Linked DNA regions of Homo sapiens: region 1 is linked to region 2. Evidence: promoter capture Hi-C in 16 types of primary human blood cells and fetal thymus (Javierre and others, 2016). All regions are on one chromosome and are shown on one strand. Each heading gives the region's core, a stretch centred on a gene start or on the middle of the fragment in contact. The rest is flanking DNA. Distances are from core to core; before and after follow the strand shown.

Region 1 (5,997 bases), core at 1,167-3,666, 430 kb after region 2:
ACGAGGCTAGTGATGACCTTGATTCCAAAGCCAGAATGAAAAAGAAAAAATAAAGCATCAAATTTATTCATGATTTTAGATGCAAAAATCCTAAACAAAATAATGGCATACTTTAGTAATGTATTAAATAAAAAATGACCTAGTTAGGTTTACCCTAGAAATGTAAGCATCAAATATATCTACTATTAGCAAATCTAATAATGTAATTCACCAGATTAACAGATTAAAAGAGAATAATCACAATCAGTGCTGAAAAATAGTTTATGAAAATGCAACACTCATTTATGATAGCAGCTAAGGGAAATGGATCATTCCATGTACCCCATTTGGAAAAGCAGACATGATACGGGTTGGGAATGTTCCTTCACTAGAAGTGGTTGGAGGAGTCTTAACTCTTTGAGGCACAAATGCGAAATGATGGACTTTTTCCCAGTGACCAGTTGGACTCTGTGGAACCTTCTTTCCCACTTGTAGCTTCCCTTAATAATATCTCAGGCTTCTCCCTTCATGTTCAGTTACTAAGAATCACTGGACAAAATGATAGACATCTAGATCAATGGAATAGAACTAAGAATCCAGAAATAAACCCTTGCATTTATAGTCAATTGATTTTCCACAAGGATGCTAAGACAATTCAGTGGAGGAAAGAATTATCTTTTCAATTAATGGTGCTAGGATAATTGGCTACCCACATGCAGAAGAATGAAGTTGCACTCCTTACGCATACCTTACCCAAAAATTAACTCAAATGGATTGTAAATGTAAGAGCTAAAACTAAAAAACTTTCAGAAGAAAAACAGAAGTATTTGTGATTTGAGCTTAGATATGACAGCAAAAGCATAAGCAATAAAAGAAAAAAGTAAGACTTCATCAAAATTAAAAACTTTTATGCTTTAAAGAACACCCTCAATAACATGAAAAGATAACCCATTGAATGGAAGAAAATATTTGCAAATCGTGGATCAAATAAGAAACTTGTATCTAGAATACATAACAAACTCTTACATCTCAATAGGAAGAATTCAAATTATTCAACTTAAAAATGGCGCCGGGTGCAGTGGCTCATGCCTATAATCCCAGCACGTTGGGAGGCTGAGGTGGGAGGATTGCTTGGAACCCAGGAATTGGAGACTAGCTGGGCAACATAGGGAGGCTCTGTCTCTACAAAACTAAAAAAATTAGGGAGTGGTGGCTTGCGCTTGCAGTCCTAGCTACTCGGGAATTTGAAGTGGGAGGATTCCTTTAAGCCCCAGGAATTCTAGGGTGCAGTGAGCCGTTGTTATCACACCACTGCATTCCAGCCTGGGCGACAAAGTGAGGCCCCGTTCCAGAAATAAATAAATAAAAGGCAAAGGCTCTGAACAGACATTTTTGCAAAGAAGATATGTCAATGGCCAATAAGTACATGAAAAGATGCTCAATATCTTTAGCCATCAGGGAAATGCAAACGAAAACCACAATGAGATACTTCACATCTACCAGGATGGCTATGAATTTTTTTTTAAAAATAGATAATAACAAATGTTGGTAAGCATAAGGAGAAATTGGAACCCTCATACATGCTGATGAGAATGTAAAATGTTGTAGCTGCAGTGGAAAAATCTGGCAGTTCCTCAAACAGTTAAAACTAGAGTTACCATACAACCCAGCAATTCCACTCCTAGTTATATCCCCAAGAAAAACAAAGACATTATGTCCACACAAAAACTTGAGTGTTCATAATATCATTATTCATAATAGTCCAAAAGTAGAAACAACTCAAATGTTTGCTAACTGATAACATGGATAATAATTGCATAAAGTAAAATGTATACACATACTATAGACTATATTCGGCAATAAAAGTTGAGGCAGTCCTGATCCATGCTGCAATATGAATGCATTATCTTGCATTCATATTGATAACACATGAATTTTGAACCCATTATCTTAAGTAAAAGAAGCCCATCACAAAGAACCACATATTGCAAGTTCCATTTATGTGAAATGTCCAAACTTACAGAGACAGAAAGTAGATTTCGTGGTTGCTTAGGCTGGGGGAACTTGGGGAGAAATAGGGACTGTCAGCTAACTCTTCTTGGAGTGATGAAAATGTTCCAAAGTTAGATTGTGGAGATGATTGTATGAATCTGTGAATATACTAAAAAATTTGAATTGTATACTTTAATTCATTTTATTTTATTTTTTTAGGATCTCAGTCTGTTGTAGTGGCAAAATCATGCTCACTATAACCTCAAACTCCTGGGCTCAAGTGATCCTCCTGCCTCAGCTTCCTGAGTAGCTGGGACTACAGGCGTGCATCCCCCACGCCGGGCTAATTTTTAAATTTTGTGTAGAGATGGAGTCCCCTTATGCTGTCCAGGCTGGTCTCAAACTCCTGGGCTCAAGGGATCCTCCTGTCTTGGCCTCCCAAAGCATTGGGATTATAGGTGTGAGCCACCATGCCTGGCTGAATTGCACCCTTTACAAGGGTGAATTGTGTGGTATGTGGATTCTATCTCAATAAAGCCACAAAAAGTAAAGAGTCTCTGGATGTTTAAAAAAAAAAAAAAAGTGCACTCTTCCCAGGCAGGCACTTGAGGTTTCTGTGACTTGGGGCAGGGAGGGAGGTGATGAGGTTTGCTCTCCCATTCTCTATTTTCTCTGAGATATCAGGGAAAGGAGGCAAGAGAGGGGAGAGGTATCAGAACACTGCTTTCTGTGACTCCTTGCGTGAGGTTACAGTCTTCTTTCTGCTGGCATCACTTCTTTTGTTCCTATCTGGCTGTCTGTTCCTCTGCCAGGCAGGTGTCTGAGTGCTGGCTTTCCAGTGGGTCCTTCTGACACAATCCTCTGGTGAGCAAGTTCTGACTGAACTTCATCCATCTACTTTTTTCCTCAGCCTCTTAGGATGATGAAATTCTCCCAACCTTCCTCAGTGCCCACACAACCCATGGAAAACCCACATCTCCTTGCCAAGCCACCCTGTGGGAATGCCACTGGCTACCCTAGTCTTCCTCTCTTCCGCTCAGCCCTCTCTCGACCTGCCAGCAACACTGGCCTGGGCATTGGGCAGTTCAATGGCGCTGAAGTTTTCAGATGAAAGGCATTGCCAGTCCCTTACTTGGTGAAGGGGAAAGGGTCTGGAGGAATACTTAAGCTACCCCCGATCTTATGGAGGGAGGGGAACTTATTTAAGCCTTCCCGGCTCCCCCATGGGATGAGAAGAGATGGCTGCTGCTCATGAATTCTGCTCTCACTTGCCTCCTCTTCTTCCCTGTGGTGGGGGTGACTTGTGAGAGAAAGTGGATGCTGGAGCGCTGGTTCTGCAGAAGTCCTGTGAAATTATGACTTCCAGCAGCTCCTGCATGGAGATACCGGCCCACATCTGAAGGTCCTTTGAACTCAGAATGGAAGCTCTAAAATCAAATCCAAGACTACTTGGCTTTTGCACTACTGAGTTTGAATTAACCCCAGGTGGTCTTCTCCACGCTTAGTGAGAAGATGGTGGCCTGCAGCTGCTTCTCCTCCCTCCACCCTTTACCTGAGCGGTGGAAATGACTTGAGCTTTTAGAGATGTGCGTGGGACACTTTCTCTAATTTTCAGAGACCATCTAGATAGAATAATCTTTATGGAAGAGGATATGGATTTGCTCTGATTGGTTGGGCCATTGTAGCAAGAATTAAAGAGAGAGGAGTTGAATGTGCAGGTTTCTGACACTACTCCAATCTCAAAACTTTCCCTCCCTCCCTCCTCCTTTCTTCCCTCCCCACTTTCTTCCCTTTTTTCTTCTCAGTCCATTTTCTCGTCGTTTGTCTGTAATCTCTTATTTCACAGAAAAAACTCAGAACTGGCTTTTCTTTGCAGATGGGGTGAACACCTTCCATCTTGCCTCCCCTGCCCTGAGATGCTGGCAGAGTCCTTCTGCTAGATCCTGGAGGCCTGGTTGAGTGGCCCAGGGTGAAGATCTGGGATGGGGGCATCTAGTCAATGGGCAACTTGGGCATAGGATTTTGTGTCTGCATAGGTTCTTCTCTGCTGTGGCAGAGCTGCCAGCCTCTAGCCCTGAGTGAATCGGCATCCTTCCTGATGTGGAGGTCGCCCTACCTCTTCAGTTAGTTTTGACCAACTCCCCACCTCCACCTCCACTCCCATCGAGGGGCTGGTGCCTTCAGAGCTGTGGCCACCACAGCCATGGCAGGTGTCTGTTGTCATAGCCGCCCAGGAGCTCTGGTACTGCCATCATCATTGCCACTGTCACTGTTGCTCAACATGGAGCTGCCCCTGCTCCCCCAGGCTCCCTTGCCCTCAAAACCAGGTGTCCCTGAGGCCCAGAATCTCCCAGGGGCTGGTTTATGAGTCAACCTGAGGAGCCCAGGGGCCTGGAGTGTATCTCCCAGCGTTGCTCTGAGCCACTGGCTTGCTCATGGTCACATTGCCTGGGCCAGAGGCTCTCAGACTGGGGCCTAGAGCCTCAGATGATGCCCTTGGTGAATCTTGGGGGTCTGCAAATCTTCTATAAACTGAAAACAAGAGGGATTTTTATTTCAAGATAATCTTTAAAAAAAGCATATCCTGGGTCATCTGAATCCGGCTAATTGTGACTAGGGTTTAAAGAAGTGGTAAAGGTGGTCTACTCTGGATCGGGCTGCTGTGTTCAAATTGTGACTCACTCCACATCCCAGCTGTGTGACCCAGGACAGCACTCACCCGCTGTGCCTGAGTGCCTTTAGCTGCAGAAGGGTGGTAATGATCGGTTCTGCGCTGGGGTCCCTGTGAGAGCTAAATGAGATTATGCTTGCAAAGCACTTAGCCTGGGGCTTAATGGGCATCTGCACTCAATCACGACTCCAATTGTGTGTATTATCAGATGGCCCCACTATTGTCAATGGCTCATGAGAGAAAACAAACAAAGGTGGCCTTAATAGGGAAGTGATATGTTAGAGTCCAGGGACAGCCCAGTGATATTGCAGCATGCTGAATAAATGAAGTTTTCACAGAAGTTTAAATAAAGAAAAGCAGTGTGATAATTGAGCCATCACACCAGGCTGGCTGAAGTCACAGGAACATGCCCGGCAGCAGTCAGAGCTGTGCTCGTGTGGTGAGCTGCCACTTATTTTTCGGCAAAACCTCATCTATCCCATTCCATCCATGTTGTTAACATGATTTTTATTGGCTTTGCTATTTTGTTTGGATTTTATATGAATGCTGTAAGCCTAAGCTTATATCTGGTTTGAGCACATTTCATAATTTAAGTCAACACAGTTTGAAAAGGTGTCCATATGTCTCTCTCTCTTTCCGCTTTCTTTCAACAGGGTCTCACTCTTTTGCTCAAGCTGGAGTGTAGTGGTGCAATCAGAGCTCACTGCAGTAACTTTCTTTATAAAAACAATTTAACTCAACACTAAAAAGGTGTCCATATGTCTCTTTTCTTTCTTCTCTTTCTTTTCCTTCCTTCCTTCTTTCTTTCCTTTTTTCTTTCCTTCCTTTCTTTCTCTCTCTCTCCTTCCCTTCCTTCCTTCCTCTTTCCTTCCTTCCTGTCTCTCTTCCTTCTCTCTTTCTTTTTTTCCTTACTTCCTTCTTTCTTTTGACCTGGTCTCACTTTGTGGCCCAGGCTGCAGTACAGGGGCACAATCATAACTTACTGCAACCTTGAACTCCTGGGCTCAAGCAATCTTCCTACCTCTGCCTCCCAAGTAGCTAGGACTACAGGCATGCCACCAAGCCCAGATAATTAAAAATGTTTTTTTGTAGAGACAGTCTCACTGTGTTCCCATGCTGGTCTTGAACTCCTGGCCTCAAGAAATCCTCCCTCCTGGGCCTCCCAGAGTGCTGGGATTGCAGGTGTGAGCCACCATGCCTGGCCCTCTCTATTTTTTTTTCATGTTTGAGAAACACTGTTTTGGGTCTTTTCCATTGGAATTCAGATGGAGAGAAATCAGATGTATCTTCTCTCTCACAAAAACCCTAACTTCACAATAGTACCAGACTTCTCCAGTTACAGACGTGGTGGACTA
Region 2 (5,647 bases), core at 818-3,317:
GCACTACAGCCTGGAACTCCTGGGCTCAAGCGATCTTCCTGCCTTAACCTCCAGTAGCTGGGACTACAGGCTCCCGCCACCGTGCCTGGTTTAGTCCCAGTATCTTAATACATAGGTTTTTAGACTTTGACTAGAAGCTTAAGTCAAAGGAATATAAGCATAGTCAAAGTTAGACTCCCAGTCTTGGAATCTTAGAATTACAGGGTCGCAGGATCGCAGGATCGCATTCTTTAGATTTATGGAATCACGTTAGGACAACGGTCGTCCAGAATTTAAAATCTAGATATCTGAATCTCAGAATCTTGAAAGTTACTGAGAGCCACGAAATCCCGTATTAAAAGGTGCCTATAATATAATCCAGTTAAAAATTTTAAAATTTGAAGTTTTTCCTCCTTTGTAAAAACGAAACAGGACGAAATCTGGGTTTTTTGCTTCTCCATTACTTGGGAAGAAGGAAACCAGGAGTTTTGTTTAGCGAGTGTAAAGCCCCTCTCCCTTCGTTCGACCAACCCTCTGCCGCAGAAGGTTGTCAAGCAAACGCTTTGAGCGTTTCCACACACCGGGTCGACGGAGCAAGGATCTGGGCTTTGCCTCGCTCTTCCGAAGGCAGCTGCCCAACGCTTGGCCGGGCTTAGCCTGCCCTCAGCTCACCGCCACGAAGAACGCGACTAAAACCCTGGAAGGCATGCCACCCGTTACTGGCCAGAACTCTCGTCTTGGGATCTCCCACACTCACCTGGCACCACCATCCGCGCGGCTCTGCACCCACAGCCCCGGCCCGCCCCCCCCCCCCACCCCGGAAAGCTGCGTCCGGGCTGGAGCCACTGGAACCCGCGCCAAGGCCCGGAATCCTATACGTAGCAGGGGCCTCGGAGATCAGCACACGCCCTCCAGCTGCTATTTAACAGAGTAGAACACTGAGGCCCTGCGAGGGGACAAGGACAGGCCCTGGATCTCCCAGTGAATGGCCAGGGAACGAACCCGGGCCAGAGGGGCCGCGCCGCGAGGATCTCAGGTTAGGACCAAGTTCCGGCTCAGGGACAGCAGGAAAGGAACTCAGAAATTGGACACCCATGAAGCAAACGTGTCCCGACTGCCCGCCCCTTCCCCCGGAGACGCGCCCACCCGGCCACCGCTCTCTTCCCACTCCCCCATTACCCGCAGCCCTCACTCCCCGCTGCGGGAAGGGGCTGCTTGGCTGCCTCTGGGGGTCTTCAGAGCTACCCTGGTCCCGGGGGATTGGAGGAGGAGGTTACCTATCCTGCGTCGTCTTTAATCCGTGCACCACTATCCATCAAATAGAGACAGATCCTGGGCCTCTCAAAGACGGATGATTGGGGGTGGTGATTGGCCTATCCCTAAATATCTACCACGCAAGGACTCTTGAGAGATCCAGACCCCGGTACAGTCGAGGGACCTGGGGCCCAAAAAGGGAAAGCGGCTACCTCTACCACACAGTTGGGAAGCGCAGTCCTAAAGGAGACGCAGGTTGGAGACTCCGCTAAGCGGAGAAGCCGCAGTGGGGCCATGGCAAGTCACCTTCCCTTTCGGGCCTAGGAATACTCATTCGAAAGATGGGGGGACTGGAGTGCCGAGTGGCTGTGGCAGCCACGATTGGGGTTTGGAAACCATCCTGAAAGGCCCGGGGAGCCAGTCTCCTGGAACTTCTCCCTCCCCATTCCCACAAAAACCAAGCGCCCTCTCGGCCAATTCTCACCCTCTCAGGACAAAAAAGTGAGATGAGCCCGTCCTTTCACCTGCGAGTCCAAGCCCTTGGCAGAGGCCTGAAAAGTCCGAAAACTCCGAGTTCGGGCGCTGAGGTCTCCCGAGCCGGTTCCTGAACTCTCCGGGCCTCAGTCGATCGGGGTGCGGAGGGGGCCGACCCGGGGGATCTCCAAGCGCCCTCCCCGCCCTGACGCTGTGGGGCTCCTACCGCGCCGCCACAGCTGCTCCTACCTGGGGAGGTGCGCCCGGGCCCCGGGGGGCGGGCAGTCGGGGGGCGGGCAGGGAACCGGTGCCGCCCCACGCTTCGTGGCCCCTTTAAGGAGGGGAAGCCGGCGGAGGGAGGAGCCGGTCCGGTGTGTGCAGGGGAGCGCCTCGCCAGCGGTCCGCAGGGCTGGAGACCCACGCCGTGGAGAGGACCAGCCTCAGGTCGCCCCGCCTGGGCCCGCGCCCCGACCTCGCTGCCCCCGCCTCGCCTCTCTGCCCGTGGCGCTTACGGCCACCTTGGCCTCGGGGGCAGGGCATGGGCGGCCCCCGCCAGATCGCCCAGCGCCAGTACTAACTGCCCTCGCTCTGGCCTTCGAGCCCGAAGCCTCTTCTGCGCGCACAACCTAGGCAGTAATCCTAAACTAGCGGGCACCACAGACCAGCTGCAGCCACCCCAACCCAGGGATCACTTCCGGACCCCTCGACCGCCCGGCACCAGCGCGCAAGGGACCCTTCAGCCGGAGACCAGAGTCCAGTCCCGGTCACGAGGCCACCGCCGCTGCCCGCCTCGAGAAGCACCACGCGGGCTGAGCCGTCGGCTAGCGGGTCACTCCCGAGCCTCTGTCTGCACCGCGCCAGCCCCAGACCACGGACGCTGAGCCTCCAGCGCGTGCCAGCCTGGGCCGCTGGGCTCTCGGGGCCAGCCCGCGACGATCCCCTGAGCTCTCCGCAGAAGGGCCGAGCGTCCGTTCCGGGGACGCCAGGCCCGCCCCCGCCCCCCGACAGCCGCGGGGATCCAGAGCCCGGGGGTGCGGGACGCCCGCGCCATGACTGCCGAGAGCGGGCCGCCGCCGCCGCAGCCGGAGGTGCTGGCTACCGTGAAGGAAGAGCGCGGCGAGACGGCAGCAGGGGCCGGGGTCCCAGGGGAGGCCACGGGCCGCGGGGCGGGCGGGCGGCGCCGCAAGCGCCCCCTGCAGCGCGGGAAGCCGCCCTACAGCTACATCGCGCTCATCGCCATGGCCATCGCGCACGCGCCCGAGCGCCGCCTCACGCTGGGCGGCATCTACAAGTTCATCACCGAGCGCTTCCCCTTCTACCGCGACAACCCCAAAAAGTGGCAGAACAGCATCCGCCACAACCTCACACTCAACGACTGCTTCCTCAAGATCCCGCGCGAGGCCGGCCGCCCGGGTAAGGGCAACTACTGGGCGCTTGACCCCAACGCGGAGGACATGTTCGAGAGCGGCAGCTTCCTGCGCCGCCGCAAGCGCTTCAAGCGCTCGGACCTCTCCACCTACCCGGCTTACATGCACGACGCGGCGGCTGCCGCAGCCGCCGCCGCCGCCGCCGCCGCCGCCGCCGCCATCTTCCCAGGCGCGGTGCCCGCCGCGCGCCCCCCCTACCCGGGCGCCGTCTATGCAGGCTACGCGCCGCCGTCGCTGGCCGCGCCGCCTCCAGTCTACTACCCCGCGGCGTCGCCCGGCCCTTGCCGCGTCTTCGGCCTGGTTCCTGAGCGGCCGCTCAGCCCAGAGCTGGGGCCCGCACCGTCGGGGCCCGGCGGCTCTTGCGCCTTTGCCTCCGCCGGCGCCCCCGCTACCACCACCGGCTACCAGCCCGCAGGCTGCACCGGGGCCCGGCCGGCCAACCCCTCCGCCTATGCGGCTGCCTACGCGGGCCCCGACGGCGCGTACCCGCAGGGCGCCGGCAGTGCGATCTTTGCCGCTGCTGGCCGCCTGGCGGGACCCGCTTCGCCCCCAGCGGGCGGCAGCAGTGGCGGCGTGGAGACCACGGTGGACTTCTACGGGCGCACGTCGCCCGGCCAGTTCGGAGCGCTGGGAGCCTGCTACAACCCTGGCGGGCAGCTCGGAGGGGCCAGTGCAGGCGCCTACCATGCTCGCCATGCTGCCGCTTATCCCGGTGGGATAGATCGGTTCGTGTCCGCCATGTGAGCCAGCGTAGGGACGAAAACTCATAGACACATCGGCTGTTCACACGTTCCCCGCAATCTGAGAACGAACAGGAATGGAGAGAGGACTCAACTGGGACCCACGTGGAAAAGACCGAGCAGGCCACAGAGGCTCGGTCTCCCCGCGCACAGCGTAGGCACCCGGTGTACTCTGTAAACGGGAGGAGGTGGGGCGAGGCAGCCAGAGCCCTTGGACTGGCACAGGGACCCTCGATGGAGCGAAGCCCTCAAACGGGATGCTTTCTGGTATTCTATCGGGGAGGGTCCTTGGCGGTAACCAGAGGGCAGCGTAGTGTCAACACCAGAGACCAGGATCCAAATTGTGGGGAATCAGTTTCAGCCTTCCATGTGCTGCCGGAACTCGGGCCTTTTTACGCGGTTCGTCCTCTAGTGCCTTTAACTGCGTTACTACAATAAAAGGCTGCGGCAGCGCCTTTCTTCTTAAAGTGAGGAGGACAAATTTGCAAAAGAAATAGGCTTTTCTTCTTTTTTAAATTGGAGAAATCTCTGCTCTGGTTGACCTGGGCTGGTTTTCCCTGTCTCTGAGAACTTGAGACCTAGCTCCGAGTTGAACTGTGCGTCAGCACTCCAGTCCCATCACCTGAACCTTCAGTCTCCCCCATCTGTTACACTAGAGGGCTGCAGGACTCTATCCACCGCCCCCGGGTTATCATTCAGGGCCCCATCATCTTGGATGCTGCCCTGCGTATTTGGCAGCAATGGTGGGCCACCCAGGGCCTCTGAGTAGCCACCCAAAGCCTAGCCGCTGTTCTAGGGAACGGAAAAGAGTTCATGGCCAAGCGTCTAACCTAAAGTCCCAGGATTGGCTCCAGGCAGCAATTATATCATAACTTATTGAACTTTTGAGCAGGACGTGCTGGTAATTTCATGGCTGTTACTGCCCAGTCATAAATCTGCTTTTCCATTATAAGGCAGAGAGAAGTACATTCGTTCATTTGTCCACTGTTTCTTGTCATCACGCAGCCCTGGACCCAAAGGGTGAACTAAAGTTTAAGGAGATGAGAGGATTCAAGGAGCCCGTTGGTGACGCCTTTCAGTAGCTGGGGAGGGCTCTTCCATCCCCAGCACCCCCTGCTACACCTCAGCAGCCTCCCCCATGCAAAAAGGAAAGAGAAAAATTAAGTTAGGGCAGTCAGTAAAGTGAGCTTTAGAAAGAAACTGGAATTTTAACTTCATTTTGTATCTTGCTTAAGTAGCAGGCTCACTAAAATTAGAGAAAGTCCAATAACTCTCCCCCTTTCCCTTGAGAAATCTTTAAGTTTCGATTCTGGAGCAAAAACTTTCAGCATTAAATATTTCAGAGGCTCCATTCACAGCTTTCAGATAAACTGGAGTGTTCAGATGGACTGTTTTAATAAAAATCTTTGAGCAAGTGAGTTATGGCAAGAGAAACTCAGCCTCTTTCTGTATAAACTTAACAGGGAAGGGCTGGGGTGTGAAAAAGAAGATTGTATGAAAACCATTGGTAATTTTTATTTTTTATTTTTGGGACTGCACTATCCTGTTCACGAAGACATGTGAACTTGGTTCAGTCCAAATGGGGATTTGTATAAACCAGTGCTCTCCATTAGAAATATGGTGCAAGCCACATATGTAATTTTAAATATTCTAGTAGCCACATTAATAAAGTAAAAAGAAACAGGTGAGGTTAATTTGAATGATATACTTAACCCAACATATCAAAAATATTATGATTTCAACATATAATCAATGTAAAAATTGAGATGTTTT

What was found. The method cuts DNA at HindIII sites, captures the fragments that hold promoters and counts their contacts. A CHiCAGO score of 5 or more calls a contact.
Region 1: a fragment that was not itself captured here is called in contact with the fragment with the promoter of FOXE1 in region 2 in 4 of 17 cell types (activated CD4 T cells, total CD8 T cells, naive CD4 T cells and 1 more); the score reaches 6.6 in activated CD4 T cells.

The regions. Positions count from the first base shown.
Region 1 is chr9:98,276,004-98,282,000 of GRCh38, forward strand. No RefSeq gene overlaps it. Among named protein-coding and RNA genes, the nearest start is that of TBC1D2, 23 kb to the left of the region's middle. RefSeq lists an enhancer at 3,736-4,421. The HindIII fragment of the contact is 5,565 bases long and covers 1-5,199 here.
Region 2 is chr9:97,851,159-97,856,805 of GRCh38, forward strand. FOXE1 (forkhead box E1) reads left to right here and starts at 2,068. Exons shown (of 1, transcript NM_004473.4): 1 at 2,068-5,559. The coding sequence starts at 2,757. The coding sequence ends at 3,878. PTCSC2 (papillary thyroid carcinoma susceptibility candidate 2) reads right to left here and starts at 1,922. Exons shown (of 11, transcript NR_147055.1): 1 at 1,758-1,922. RefSeq lists an enhancer at 535-1,036. The HindIII fragment of the contact is 6,931 bases long and covers 136-5,647 here.